Linked DNA regions of Homo sapiens: regions 1, 2, 3 and 4 are each linked to region 5. Evidence: promoter capture Hi-C in 16 types of primary human blood cells and fetal thymus (Javierre and others, 2016). All regions are on one chromosome and are shown on one strand. The core of a region is centred on a gene start or on the middle of the fragment in contact, and the rest is flanking DNA. Distances in the headings are between cores, read along the strand shown.

Region 1 (2,700 bases), core at 1-2,500, 240 kb before region 5:
GGCACCCCCTGCTCCCAGGACACAAGCTTCTCCAGCAGCCGACAAGATACCCCATCTTCCTTTGGCCAGTTCACACCTCAGTCCTCCCAAGGAACCCCCTACACGTCTCGGGGCAGCACCCCCTACTCTCAGGACTCTGCCTACTCCAGCAGGTACAGAGCAGACCCCGCCTGGGGCCCCGCCCGCAAAGTCTGGGAGCTGCCACTGGGAAGAAGATGCCCAGAGTCTGTCTCCAAGAGGGAGTTGGAAATAATTTGTCCTAGTTTCTCTGTGGATTCAGTCAACAAATTGCTGTCCTCGGGGAACACACTAGCTAGGAACCCAACATATAGCTCTTCTTTTGGAGGGCAGCATAGAGGGGCTTTGGGCCCTGGGACCCAGTACGCTGTGGTTTGGTCATAGAGAGCTGAGTCCAGCTAACTCCCCTGCTTCTTCTCCAGCACCACTTCAACCTCCTTCAAGCCCCGGCGGTCAGAGAACAGCTACCAAGATGCCTTTTCCCGCCGCCACTTCTCTGCATCTTCAGCCTCCACAACCGCCTCCACGGCCATCGCCGCCACCACTGCAGCCACTGCCTCATCCTCCGCCTCTTCCTCCTCATTGTCCTCGTCCTCCTCGTCATCCTCTTCCTCCTCGTCCTCTCAGTTTCGTAGTTCTGATGCAAACTACCCAGCGTATTATGAAAGCTGGAATCGCTACCAGCGCCATACTTCCTACCCACCACGCCGGGCCACACGGGAGGAACCCCCTGGAGCCCCTTTTGCTGAAAATACAGCTGAGCGCTTCCCACCTTCTTACACCTCCTACCTGCCCCCCGAGCCCAGCCGGCCCACCGACCAGGACTACCGGCCTCCTGCCTCAGAGGCTCCACCCCCGGAGCCTCCAGAACCTGGTGGAGGCGGGGGTGGAGGAGGGCCCAGCCCTGAGAGAGAAGAAGTTCGGACTTCCCCCCGCCCAGCCTCCCCTGCCCGCTCTGGCTCCCCAGCCCCGGAGACCACCAATGAGAGTGTGCCCTTCGCCCAGCACAGCAGCCTGGATTCCCGCATCGAGATGCTGCTGAAGGAGCAGCGCTCCAAGTTTTCCTTCTTGGCCTCTGACACAGAGGAGGAGGAAGAGAACAGCAGCATGGTCCTTGGGGCCAGAGATACAGGGAGTGAGGTGCCTTCTGGGTCAGGGCATGGGCCCTGCACACCCCCTCCGGCCCCAGCTAATTTTGAGGATGTGGCACCTACAGGGAGCGGGGAGCCAGGGGCTACCCGGGAGTCTCCCAAGGCAAATGGACAGAACCAGGTGAGGTTGGGGTCAGCCAGAGGAGGCACCTGGGCTCTGGGAGTCAGGGTTGGGCCTAGGGGAGAGGGAAGGGAACCAGATGAGAAAGTAGGGCTTGGGTCAGGCAGAAGCCTTCTGTGACCCTCTTCTGCCCCCGCAGGCTTCTCCATGCTCTTCTGGAGACGACATGGAGATCTCCGACGACGACCGGGGTGGCTCACCCCCTCCGGCCCCGACGCCCCCTCAGCAGCCTCCGCCACCTCCCCCTCCCCCGCCGCCTCCTCCTCCCTACCTGGCGTCCCTTCCTCTTGGTTATCCTCCCCACCAACCTGCCTACCTCCTCCCACCCAGACCTGATGGGCCGCCGCCCCCTGAGTACCCCCCACCTCCTCCACCACCCCCGCACATCTATGACTTTGTGAACTCCTTGGAGCTCATGGACCGACTTGGGGCTCAGTGGGGAGGGATGCCCATGTCCTTCCAGATGCAGACCCAGATGTTAACTCGGCTCCATCAGCTGCGGCAGGGCAAGGGATTGATTGCCGCCTCAGCTGGCCCCCCCGGTGGGGCCTTTGGGGAGGCCTTCCTCCCGTTTCCACCCCCGCAGGAGGCAGCCTACGGCTTGCCGTATGCTCTATATGCACAGGGGCAGGAGGGCAGAGGGGCATACTCACGGGAGGCCTACCACCTGCCCATGCCAATGGCAGCCGAGCCCCTGCCCTCCTCCTCAGTCTCGGGAGAGGAGGCCCGGCTGCCACCCAGGGAAGAAGCAGAGCTGGCAGAGGGCAAGACCCTCCCGACAGCAGGCACCGTGGGCCGTGTGCTCGCCATGCTGGTCCAGGAGATGAAGAGCATCATGCAGCGAGACCTCAACCGCAAGATGGTGGAGAACGTGGCCTTCGGAGCCTTTGACCAGTGGTGGGAGAGCAAGGAGGAGAAGGCCAAGGTGAGGCCAGCGCCTGGGACCGGGGAGCCCTGGGCTTTGCAGGAGGAAATGGGCCTCTGGCTCCTCCAGGCTGCACAGCTCAGAGGAGACAGGTGATGGAGGCGAGTGGAGAGAGGCCGCAGGCCCTGCAGGCCACCCTGGGTGGGCAGGGGAGTTGAGGGGACAGAGAAGCAGGCACAGATGGGCCTGGGAGGCAGCAGAGCTTTGTCCTGGCTCCATTCCTTGCTGGCTTGCAGTGGACAAGGCCCTTAGCTCTCTTCAAGCTTTGGTCTTCCATTTTGCCACTTGTGAAGTGGGAATGGTGGCTATTTCTTAAGACTGGTGGGCGAAATGACAGACTTTTGAGAAAATGCCGTGCGGGGGCTGGGACAGGTGTGACCAAGATATGGAGCAGCAAGTAGATGCGTTCTGTATTCCTGGGGTCCGGGAGTAGGTCTCAGGCAGGAGGGAATGCCTGGGTTCTGGGCGCTGGGGCTCAGCCCCAC
Region 2 (2,700 bases), core at 192-2,691, 160 kb before region 5:
TGTATGGGATAAGTGAGCAGGGGACAAGGGACTACATGATAGAAGGGGCCTGGAAGCCATCCCCAAGGAGTCTGAACTTTTGTCAGATCAAGTCTTGCCCTTGTCTTTGTTAGTGCAATTTTTTTTTCCTGCCAGGAATGTTCTTCAGTCATCTGGGGTGGGGTGGGCAAAGGCATCCTTACCTCCCTGAACCACCCCATCCTCTGAGCAGGGGGAGATGATCAATCGGATTGAGAAGAACATCCTGAGCTCAGCGGACTACGTGGAACGTGGGCAGGAGCACGTCAAGACGGCCCTGGAGAACCAGAAGAAGGCGAGGAAGGTGAGCCTCCCAGGCCCGGCCACTGCCCCAGGCACCCTGTGTGACTTCCCTGACCCCCTCCTCTCCCACAGAAGAAAGTCTTGATTGCCATCTGTGTGTCCATCACCGTCGTCCTCCTAGCAGTCATCATTGGCGTCACAGTGGTTGGATAATGTCGCACATTGTTGGTGAGATGTTGTGGGCTGCCCCCTGGCCTGCCCCAGCCCTGGCCCCAGCCCTCCCTCCTCCCTCAGACCCTGTTCTCCCTCCTTTCCTTACAGGCACTAGGAGCACCAGGAACCCAGGGCCTGGCCTTCTCTCCCAGCAGCCTGGGGGGCAGGGCAGAGCCTCCAGTCGGACCCCTTCCTCACACTGGCCCCTATGCAGAAGGGCAGACAGTTCTTCTGGGGTTGGCAGCTGCTCATTCATGATGGCCTCCTCCTTCAGGCCTCAATGCCTGGGGGAGGCCTGCACTGTCCTGATTGGCCGGGACACACGGTTTTGTAAAAAATTAAAAAACAAAAAAAGAGCATAGAAAGCCCTGTGCACGTGTGTTCCTGGAAGGGCTGGCCCAAGGCTTCCGGGCATCCAACCTCCTTACCTCCTGGACGTCCCCAGGGCCAGGTCTGGCCCTGGCTGCTCAGGTCAAACTGCCAGGGGTGCTGTGCCCACAGCAGGCTGGTTCTGCCTTTCTGCACCCCCATAGGAATGGGTGGGCAGGGAGGGGTAACACCGGCATCTAGCTCCTGGCTCAGTACTGTCCCCGGGAAAGGACCACTGTGAGTATCTGTCTTGGAAATGATGAGGCTGACCAGGCCAGGCTGGGACGCAGGTGAGATGGGGGTTTGGGTGGCATCAGTGGGCCTTCTTGTGGCCCAGAGGAAGAGGCACCATGAAAAAATGCCTAATTGAGGCTGTCACTTTGGATGCAGTGGATAGGGATGGTCTGGTTTCAGCAGGGATGACATTGGAGTGGGATGTTAAGCTGGGGAAGAGGTTGCCAGTCAGAAAGCACAGGAGGCCGGGCCCTGTGACCAACAAAAGCATCATCTTTTACATAAGCGTTTAGGCAGGGTGTGGTGGCTCGCACCAGTAATCCCAGCACTTTGGGAGGCCCAGGCAGGAGGATCTCTTGAGCCCAGGAGCTTGAGACCAGCCTAGGCAGGATGGGGCAACCTCTTCTCTTTAGAGAATAATAATTTTACAAATTAGCCAGGCGTGATGGCAAGTGTCTGTCGTCCCAGCTACTCCAGAGGCTGAGGTGGGAGGATCGCTTGAGCCCAGGAGATTAAGGCTGCAGTGAGCCATGGTCATCCCACTGCACTCCATCCTGGGTGACAGAGCGAGACCCTGTCTCAAAAATAATAGCAATCATCATCAGTAGCAGCAGCAGCAGCAGCAGCAGCATAGAGAGCCAGTGATCCTGGATCAGTGCACCTGGTTGCTGAGGGTTACCTGGCTGAAGCAGGTGGTGGCAGCAGAAAAGCCTGACCTCTGATTTCTTCCATAAGGTACCTGAAATCCAAGCCCTGACTAAATTTCTTTTTTTCTTTTTTTTTGAGACAGAGTCTTGTTCTTTTGCCCAGGCTGGAGTGCAGTGGCACTATCTCAGCTCACTGCAAGCTCCGTCTCCCAGGTTCACGCCATTCTCCTGCCTCAGCCTCCCGAGTAGCTGGGACTGCAGGCACCCGCCACCACACCCGGCTAATTTTTTGTATTTTTAGTAGAGACGGGGTTTCACCGTGTTAGGATGGTCTCGATCTACTGACATCGTGATCTGCCCTCCTCGGCCTCCCAAAGTGTTGGGATTACAGGCGTGAGCCACCGCCTAAATTTCTAAGGGCTCCTAGTCCTGATGCCTAATTTCTGGAGTGGACGTGGCTCCTGTTCCCCGACACCTAGAGTTTTTGTTTGTTTGTTTGTTTGTTTTGAGACAGAGTCTCGCTCTGTCGCCCAGCCTGGGGTGCAGTGGCGCAATCTCGGCTCACTGCAAGCTCCGCCTCCCGGGTTCACGCCATTCTCCTGCCTCAGCCTCCAGAGTAGCTGGGACTACAGGCGCCCGCCACCATGCCCGGCTAATTTTTTTTTTTTTTTTGAGACGGAGTCTTGCTCTATCGCCCAGACTGGAGTGCAGTGGTGCGATCTCCGCTCACTGCAAACTTCGCCTCCCGGGTTCACGCCATTCTCCTGCCTCAGGCTCCTGAGTAGCTGGGACTACAGGCACCCGCCACCGCGCCCGGCTAATTTTTTGTATTTTTAGTAGAGACGGGGTTTCATCGTGTTAGCCAGGATGGTCTCGATCTCCTGACCTCGTGATCCGCCCGCCTCAGCTTCCCAAAGTGCTGGGATTACAGGCATGAGCCACCGCGCCCGGCCCCCGACACCTAGTTTTAAAGGGT
Region 3 (2,700 bases), core at 148-2,647, 200 kb after region 5:
CCTGGGAAGGGACTCAGCTCAGAGCCAACTCCACGTAGCTGGAAATAAGGACCTCTGACCGACTGGGGGTAGGGTGGGGTCTGGGGTGGATCCCTGCCCCACCCCCACAGCATCCCTACAGGCATATCCTACAGGCCTCGAAGGTGCCTGGCACGTGGTGAGAATGGTGCCAGCGGCTGACCCTGGCAGAGGGCCAGGACTTGTCTCCAGCACCCATGTGCGTGTTGCTTTATCCTTGCAGTGATCCCACGTGGTAGCCACTGATATTACCTTCATTTTACAGATAGGGACACTGAAGTCCAGAGAAGTTAAGTAATGTGCCTGAATTCACCAATTAGCACGTGGCTGAGCTGGGGTTTAGCCCAGGCACACTGGCTCCAGAACACGCGCCCTGAACCACTTTGCTAAACATTCGCCCTTGATGCTTGTGGCACCCCTAGCATCTGTGTTTAATGAATATTTGTTGATTAAATGGATGAGGAGCCCACCTGGGTCCTGTGTTGTCATCCCTCTCTTTCCAGGCCATGTGGGAGGAAGGGAGCAGGGGGCTGGGGTGGCAGACTGGGGCCTCCTCCAAGGAGGGGTCGGAAACTAGGTGGGGATGCCAAGAACAGCCCCCGGGCTCTGTTGAGCAGGAGCTGCAGGAGGGGGTTGGGCCCCCGCAGTGCATCTCCGATTCCTCCCCATTCCCCCACAGAGTGTCCACATCAAGAGATGGACATCGTCTTCCTGATTGACGGCTCTGGAAGCATTGACCAAAATGACTTTAACCAGATGAAGGGCTTTGTCCAAGCTGTCATGGGCCAGTTTGAGGGCACTGACACCCTGGTGAAGACTGGGCACCTGGGGCTGGGGTTTGGGGGACGGGGGAGGCTGGCCTCGGGGAGGCATCCCGGGAGGGGTGGGGGCAGGCCAGTGAGCCGTGTGTGATGGGGCTGGGGTGGAGAATGAAGCTATGGTCCCAGCACAGGCCCAACTTGAGCCCTGACCTAGGAGGCCCTCTTGGCATTTAATAATGTATCCAAAAGCTACAGGAAATACAATGTTTCTGCTGTTTAAAAACATTGAAAGTGTTTAAAAAATAATTTTGCTATGGAATTTGACTGACATATTTTCTATGTAACTAATGATTTCTTTTTATTATTTTATTTTCCCATAACTAGTGCCTATGTATGTGCAAAAAAACCCCACTGTTTTGTTTTTTAAACAGGGTCTTGTTCTGTCATCCAGGCTGCAGTGTGGGGGTGCAATCATAGCTCACTGCAGACTTGATCTCCCAGGCTCAAGTGATCCTCTTTCCTCAGCCTCCTGAGTAGATGGGACTACAGGTGCATGCCACCATGCCTGGCTAATTTTTAAAAATTTTTATTGTAGAGATGGGGTCTTGTTATATTGCCCAACCTGGTCTCCAACTCCTGGCTCAAACAACCCTCCCACCTTGGCCTCTCAAAGTGCTGGGATTACAGGCATGAGTCACTACGCCCAGCCACAAATTCTTGAGAAGGGAGGAAATACACAAATTGATTTAATGTGTGATAAAATTTTTAAAAAGCTAAGGGTAGCAAATATTGTGGTTGGCAAAGTTATTTTTAATAAACTGTGAAGGAAATATCATTTGGTTTAGATTTTCCAGTTTATATTTTGTATTTTTGGGCCAATGAATTTTCTTCTCTGGGTTTCAGTATATTATTTGTAGGGCTTCAAAACACATGGGAAATGGTTTGTAAATCCAAAATAATTCCAAAATAAAGTTTATTAAAACTGAAAACAATATGGCTTGGTGTGGTGGCTCACACCTGTAATCCCAGCACTTTGGGAGGCTGAGGTGGGAGTATTGCTTGAGGCCAAGAGTTCGAGACCAGCCTGGGCAACATAGTGAGACCTTGTCTCTACCAAAAACAAAACAAAACAAAAAACAAAGCCAGGCATGTGACGTGTGCCTGTAGTTCCAGCTACTTGGAGGCTGAGGCAGGAGGATCACTTGAGGCCAGGAGTTTGAGAGACCCTGTCTCTACAAAAAATTAAAATAAAAACAATAGTAACAGGCACTGAGCCCTGGGCCCTCCCCACTGGCCTTTGCAGTTTGCACTGATGCAGTACTCAAACCTCCTGAAGATCCACTTCACCTTCACCCAATTCCGGACCAGCCCGAGCCAGCAGAGCCTGGTGGATCCCATCGTCCAACTGAAAGGCCTGACGTTCACGGCCACGGGCATCCTGACAGTGGTGTAAGCAACCCCGACCCCAGCCTGGCGATGTGACTGCCACCCCCACTTCCTAACCCTGGGTCAGCACAGCTCTTCTCAGAGGCTGAGGGAGGCTCCAGGGAAAGGGGCTACCAAGGGGCATGTCGGGGCTGCAGGGAGAACCTCCCCCCGGGGTGCTCCTGGTTGCCTCGCTGCCAGTCTCCCTGATATAGGACTAGGCTCCTCTGCAGCTATGCCTCCCCTTTGCCTGGTTCTGCAGAGCCTGGACCCCAGGACCCCTCCCCACCCCACAGCAGCCAGAGGCCCGGGCTTTGGCTCAGACACATCAGGCTCCCATCCTGGCTCCCCGTGAGCTACTCTGGGTGTAACCCTGGGGTGATGGGCTCTAAGTCTCAGTAACTCTCAGATGAAGATAAGCTCACAGCTTAGGATTGAGATCATGTGTGTGGGGTGCTCAGCCCGGGGCACGTAGGAGGTGTCGGATAAATGCCTG
Region 4 (2,700 bases), core at 62-2,561, 200 kb before region 5:
CGTTCACCCGCACGCAGACTCACAGCTGAGCCGCACTGACATGTGTGGACACACTGGCTTTCAGCTGCACCCCTGAGGACATTTGGGAGGGCTCACTGGGCTTGTTCTTCCAGCTTCTCCGAGCCTCATGTCTGCACACACACTCAGAGCTGGACAGGAGAGGCTGTAGGGGAGGTGCCCTGTGCTACACACACCTGAGTCCTTCTCTGCTTGGGACAGAGGTCTGACAGCAAAATCTGAGTCCATCAAGCTTAATGACATCTGGAGCCCTGATCAGCCCCAGTGGAAATGTATACAGAGTTCATTCTGATTTCCAAAAAGAACCCAGCCAGAGCTCAGACAGAATCCAAACCCCAGAGGCTGGGTGAAATCAAGACAGGATCCAAACAGCATCCACCTGGGGGTGTACTCAGTTGGAATCCAAAAAGAAGAGCTTGCCAGGGTCCCAGCGGAACGCAGACAGGGCCTAACAGAAACCAGACAGGCTCAGACTGAACTAGCCGAGGCTCACACGGATCCCAGACAGATCCCAGACAGCTCAGATTGAACCTAGACAGGGCCAGATGGGACCTAGGTGCAGTCCACACAGCCAAAACTCAGGATCAGCAGTGCCCCACAGCCCCAGGAAAAGCCAGCACAGCCTGGGGGGCCTCCAGCTCCACGCTCCTGAGCCACCCCAGCCTCCCTGCTAAGCCCAGCCCAAATGGAACTCCAGGGAGTCTTCACACAGACGCTGGGCCCACACTGTGTCGGAAAATGTGTTCAGCACTTGTGTTGAATTTCCAGACAATCCCAACCATCCGCCTGGAAAGGGAGTTTCCTCTGTCTTGGCTCACAGCTGCCCCCAGAAAGTGGGGCGGCACAGGTGGCATAAGTTGGGGACCCTGAGAGGCTCTGGGATGCTGGGCTCACCTCTGAGGACCCATCGGCCTACCATGATGCTCTTCACTTTCTCTGTCCTCAAAATCCAGCTGTGCTACAAGGCCTCCTTCCCCTAGAGCCAAAAGCCTTCCTCTGCCCTTTCTCTCCCTTCAACCACTCACTCAGCCACCAGCCTCACGCAGGTCATGCGGCCTCTCCCTGGCCCGGGTGCCTGAGGACTTTCCTGTTCTCTGTGTCTCTCCCTTCCCCATGCTAATGTTAGGAAGTCTTTCCTAAAATCTAATTTCAATCTCTCCTGTTGTTCTTGGAGCCACCTCCCTTAGGTTCATCTCTGGAGCACCCTGGGCTACCTATTTGTTTGCCCTCAAGACAGGAAGAATGATAGAAGGCCCAAGTGTGGTTTATTTGGTATAATAAATACAAAGAGAGCTGGGAGCTAATAATCCTCTACCATTTACAAACACTTTTACATCCATAATCCGTTTTGATCCTCAGCACCACCAGCCCTGAGAGAAAAGCTGCATAAACATCATCGTCCCCATTTCACAGATGAGGGAACAGGAAGCCAGGGGGGTAAAAGGAGAGTGACTTGCCCAAGGGCACCCAGGCCACATAGGGCCAGAAAACCATGGGCATCCAGCCCCTCAAAGACCGCTGTTAGGCTCCAGACTGGGCTACCTCCCCCACTGACTTTCCGCTCCCAGTTACTTTCCCTCTCAGTGAGCGCCTGCTAAGTCCCAATCTGGGGAAGGCTCTGTGTCCGGACAACCTAGCAAAACAAGAGCACTTGATGGTATTTTTTGCGTAAGTCTTACATTCTTGTTATCTCATTTAATCTTCATTAGGACTCTGTAAGGACCATTGGCCAACATAATTATACTTATGCAAATATTTAGATGATGTTTTACAATGTGCCAGGCACTGTTCTATGTGCTCCACATATATCTATCCATTTCATTCTTACAACAGTCCCCTTGGAGGTATTATTATAGCCCCCTTTTATAGATGGGGAAACTGAGGCATAGAGCTAAATAACTCAGGCCAGTTGTAGTGGCTCACGCCTGTAATCCCAGCACTTTGGGAGGCTCTGGTGGGAGGATCACTTGAACCCAGGAGTTCAAGACCAGCCTGGGCAACATAGCAAGATCATGTCTCTACAAAAAATACAAAAATTAGCTGGGCATGGTGGTGCGCACCTGTAGTCTCAGCTACTTGGGAGGGTGAGGTAGGAGGATCCCCGGAGCTCAGGAGGTCAAGAGACTGCAGTGAGCTGTGATTGTGCCACTGCACTCCAGCCTGGGTGACAGAGCAAGACCCCGTTTCTTAAAAAAAAAAAAAAAAGAACTTGCCCCAGGTCAGCTGTTAGAAGACCATTTGGCTCTACCCCTGAGCCTAGTCTCTGCATTTGCTGAGTGGTAACAATGCCTACCACCGGCTGATTCCATGTTACAGACAAGGAAACAGGCTCAGAGAGGTTGCCTGACCTGCCTAAAGCTTCACAGCAAATGAGGCCAGAGGTAGGACCTGAACCCAGGACTGTCTGGCACTAAATGTCAGGCTCTCTCCCTTCTGTCCTGCTGACAGATGGCAGTCCCTCCTGGTCCTAAAAAGCCCACTCTGCCATGTCCTCAGGACTGCTGAACTCCTGCAGCCAGGACAGAAAATCAGTAGGAGGGGCCCAGGGCTGCAGGAAGAGCTTGGACAGGAGGCCATCCCTCCCAGCCTCCGTCTGTCTTGCTGTGTGACCCCAGGCAAACTTAGACTCCTCCCTGGGCCCCAGTTCCCTCATCACTGAAATGAGCAGACTGGTGCAAGTGC
Region 5 (2,700 bases), core at 26-2,525:
GTTCAAGCTGGCTTTTCGTATATTGTGTATAAAAAGATCAGATTCAGGATGATTTGGTGGGATTGCCAGGGGCTGACCGGAGTGTTGCTGGGAAGGAGCCTCAGCTCCGCTCCAGGTCCTCCACCAGGTAGGACTGGGACTCCCTTAGGGCCTGGAGGAGCAAGTCCTTGCAGGTCCAGTTCCAGGCTGGTGTGAAACTGAAGAGCTTCCGCATCTTGCTTGGGTTGGTGGGCTCGGCCCGCACTGCCTGGTACTGCTCATCCGTCAGGACCTTCCCGTACAGAGCATCCAGCAGCCACTCAACGTTTGTGACCCTCGCGATAAGCGCAGCCCGGTGCTGGTCTATAAAGTGCAGGCCTGGGGGTGGGAGGAGAACATGAGCCAGCAGCCAGGGTGTGGGGCCTGTCCCTGCTGAACTTGAGTTCTTCAGGAATTCCTCTGCAAGCCTAGGGGCAGGGCTCCAGGGGGCGGCCACCAGGACCCCACATGCAGTGGGATGAGGGTAATATTGTCTCCCTTCCCCCGCAGGGTGTGGGTTGGTGGGTGGGGTGCGCAGGGTTGCCAAGCCGTGCCTGCCCTGCCCTGCCCTGCCCTGGTTGCGGGAGCACAGATGCAGGCTGTGCAGGAGTGCGGTGGGGCCGGGCTGGGTGTGGAGGCCTCACCTGGCTTGGCTGCCGACTGAGGAGGGGCCTGGATCCCAGCTGGCGCGGCTCCAGAGCCTGGAAGGATATGGGCCAAGTGATCCCCTTCCCTTCCCTTCCCGCCGTGGGGCCGGGGTCCCGTTGGTCGGTAGGCCAAGCGTGGGGAGCCTCCTTTCCGGTAGAGCAGCTTTGTTTAGGGGTAGGAGGAACAGAAAGCGGAAGAGCCCGCGGGGTAAGCGCTGGTGTGGGTGGAGGGGAAAGACGGGGTGGAGGGGAACGGGGGCGGCTCACCCTGGTGCGTGGCCGCCTGCAGCTGCCCGGCCATCTCCTGCAGGCCCATGTCGCGCAGCACGTTAGCGGTGAGCTCGGCGCCGTAGGTCTCCAGGTAGAAGCTGACCAGCTTGTCGGTGAGGTCCAAGGCGTCCATGGACAGCAGCGCGCCCCGCGGGATGCGCCCGTAGCCCTCGCGCAGCGGCACCGACAGCAGCTTCAGCTTGAACTTCTTGAGCTCCTCGGCGGTCAGGTTCTCCAGCGCATCCAGGATGGCGTCGCGCGCGCGCCCCATGGCTCCAGGATCCCCGGCCGCTGCCGCCGCTCACCCCGCTGCAGCCGCCGACCAGGAGGAAGTCGGCTCCGGGGCGGAACCTGGACTCCCCGCCTTCCTCCCACTCTGGTCTCCCGACTCCCCGCCCCGGTCCGTTGCCCTCCAGCAAAAGGCGCTTCCTTACTACACCCTTGGTCCCCTCCCACCCAGGCCTCTGGATTGGGGCCCCAGGCCGTCGGGGGACGCCAGGATCGCGCCCTCCAGCTGGCCTGCGAGGTGGGACCCGGGAGGGGGCCGCAGAGGGGCTCATGGGTGGCGCCTGCTTGTCTCTGGGCTTGCACCAGCGGGTACAGACCGGAAACCTGGGCTGGCTCTCACTGGGTTTATTGGAGCACCTAGGCTTAGAACCTCGGATTTCTAGAACCCCGAAACCTCCGCGGTTCCCCGAACCTTAGGATCCTCTCCCACATGTCGTAGAATCTTGGAATCATGACAGCTAGAAGCGTGAAGCTCCCTCAATTCCACATACTGGGGAAAAATGAGTTGTACAAAAGGGCAGAGAGTGCAAATCTCTCTGAGCTTCAGTTTCATTTTCTACGACATGGGGATAACCCTCCGGTGCTTATAAATATTCCAGCATAACATGGCCAACCCGATGGCTCCCGAAACCTTGCCAGATGCTTCCTAGGGGAGCCAGAATTTGATCCCAACACTGATTAAAAAAAAGAAAAAAGAAAGAGAGACAGCCTCCAGGAGATTAAAGACCATGAACTTGAAGCCATACAGTTCTTTGTTTGAATCCTGACTCTACTTCCCAAGGGGGATATTTGGAATCCTTTATTTTTCCCTCTCATCTGGGTTGTAACAATCACTGTTCCTTGTAGTCATACGACCCTGACATATTATACGTTTATATGCTTATTGGACATTCATCCCTCTCTAAAATGTGAGGCCTATGAGCATCGGAGACCTTAACTGTCTTATTCTTTGCTGAATTCCTAGCGTCAAGAATGTACCTGGAAATAGCTGTGTGTGGTGGAGGGCGCCTGTAATCCTAGCTACTAGGGCGGCTGAGGCATGAGAATCGCTTGAACCTCGGAGGCAGAGGCTACAGTGAGCCAAGATTGCACCACTGCACTCCAGCCTGGGTGACAGAGCTAGATTCCATCTGAAAAAAAAAAATGTATCTGGAACACATTAGGTGCTGAGTAAAGATTTGCTGAGTGAAGGAATGAATGAGGCTGTGATGCCTGCAGCATGTTGTATTCAAAAGCTTCCAGCATGGCTGGGTGCAGTGGCTCATCACGCATGTCATCTCAGTGCTTTGGGAGGCTGAGGCCGGAGGGTCACTTGAGCCCAGGAGGTTGAGGGTGCAGTGAGCTATGATTGTGCCACTGCACTCTGTGCCACTCGGCAACAGACACCTTGTCTCAAAAACAAACAAGACAACCAGGATGGGCCGGGCACGGTGACTCATGCCTGTAATCCCAGCATTTTGGGAGGGCGAGGTGGGTG

The links. The method cuts DNA at HindIII sites, captures the fragments that hold promoters and counts their contacts. A CHiCAGO score of 5 or more calls a contact.
Region 1: a fragment that was not itself captured here is called in contact with the fragment with the promoter of PYCARD in region 5 in 14 of 17 cell types (monocytes, M0 macrophages, erythroblasts and 11 more); the score reaches 10.3 in monocytes.
Region 2: a fragment that was not itself captured here is called in contact with the fragment with the promoter of PYCARD in region 5 in 4 of 17 cell types (monocytes, M0 macrophages, fetal thymus and 1 more); the score reaches 10.3 in monocytes.
Region 3: a contact is called between a fragment that was not itself captured here and the fragment with the promoter of PYCARD in region 5, in 9 of 17 cell types (M0 macrophages, monocytes, M1 macrophages and 6 more). The highest score is 18.1, in M0 macrophages.
Region 4: a fragment that was not itself captured here is called in contact with the fragment with the promoter of PYCARD in region 5 in 3 of 17 cell types (monocytes, M0 macrophages and neutrophils); the score reaches 7.7 in monocytes.

What each region holds. Positions count from the first base shown.
Region 1 is chr16:30,964,172-30,966,871 of GRCh38, forward strand. It overlaps SETD1A (SET domain containing 1A, histone lysine methyltransferase), which reads left to right. Exons shown (of 19, transcript NM_014712.3): 6 at 1-152; 7 at 441-1,290; 8 at 1,430-2,215. Among named protein-coding and RNA genes, the nearest start is that of SETD1A, 7.8 kb to the left of the region's middle. The HindIII fragment of the contact is 2,452 bases long and covers 25-2,476 here.
Region 2 is chr16:31,039,330-31,042,029 of GRCh38, forward strand. STX4 (syntaxin 4) reads left to right here. Exons shown (of 11, transcript NM_004604.5): 9 at 212-322; 10 at 394-489; 11 at 583-835. The coding sequence ends at 474. Among named protein-coding and RNA genes, the nearest start is that of STX4, 7.1 kb to the left of the region's middle. The HindIII fragment of the contact is 8,081 bases long and covers 1-2,700 here.
Region 3 is chr16:31,401,418-31,404,117 of GRCh38, forward strand. ITGAD (integrin subunit alpha D) reads left to right here. Exons shown (of 30, transcript NM_005353.3): 6 at 698-828; 7 at 2,083-2,228. Among named protein-coding and RNA genes, the nearest start is that of ITGAD, 9.4 kb to the left of the region's middle. The HindIII fragment of the contact is 7,259 bases long and covers 1-2,700 here.
Region 4 is chr16:31,002,471-31,005,170 of GRCh38, forward strand. The region is part of intron 1 of STX1B (syntaxin 1B); the gene reads right to left. Among named protein-coding and RNA genes, the nearest start is that of STX1B, 6.8 kb to the right of the region's middle. The HindIII fragment of the contact is 2,126 bases long and covers 249-2,374 here.
Region 5 is chr16:31,201,485-31,204,184 of GRCh38, forward strand. It overlaps PYCARD (PYD and CARD domain containing), which reads right to left and starts at 1,276. Exons shown (of 3, transcript NM_013258.5): 1 at 933-1,276; 2 at 663-719; 3 at 2-357. The coding sequence starts at 1,206. The coding sequence ends at 101. It overlaps PYCARD-AS1 (PYCARD antisense RNA 1), which reads left to right and starts at 401. Exons shown (of 2, transcript NR_102400.1): 1 at 401-502; 2 at 976-1,968. RefSeq lists enhancers at 107-737, 927-1,156 and a silencer at 1,267-1,626. The HindIII fragment of the contact is 5,508 bases long and covers 1-2,456 here.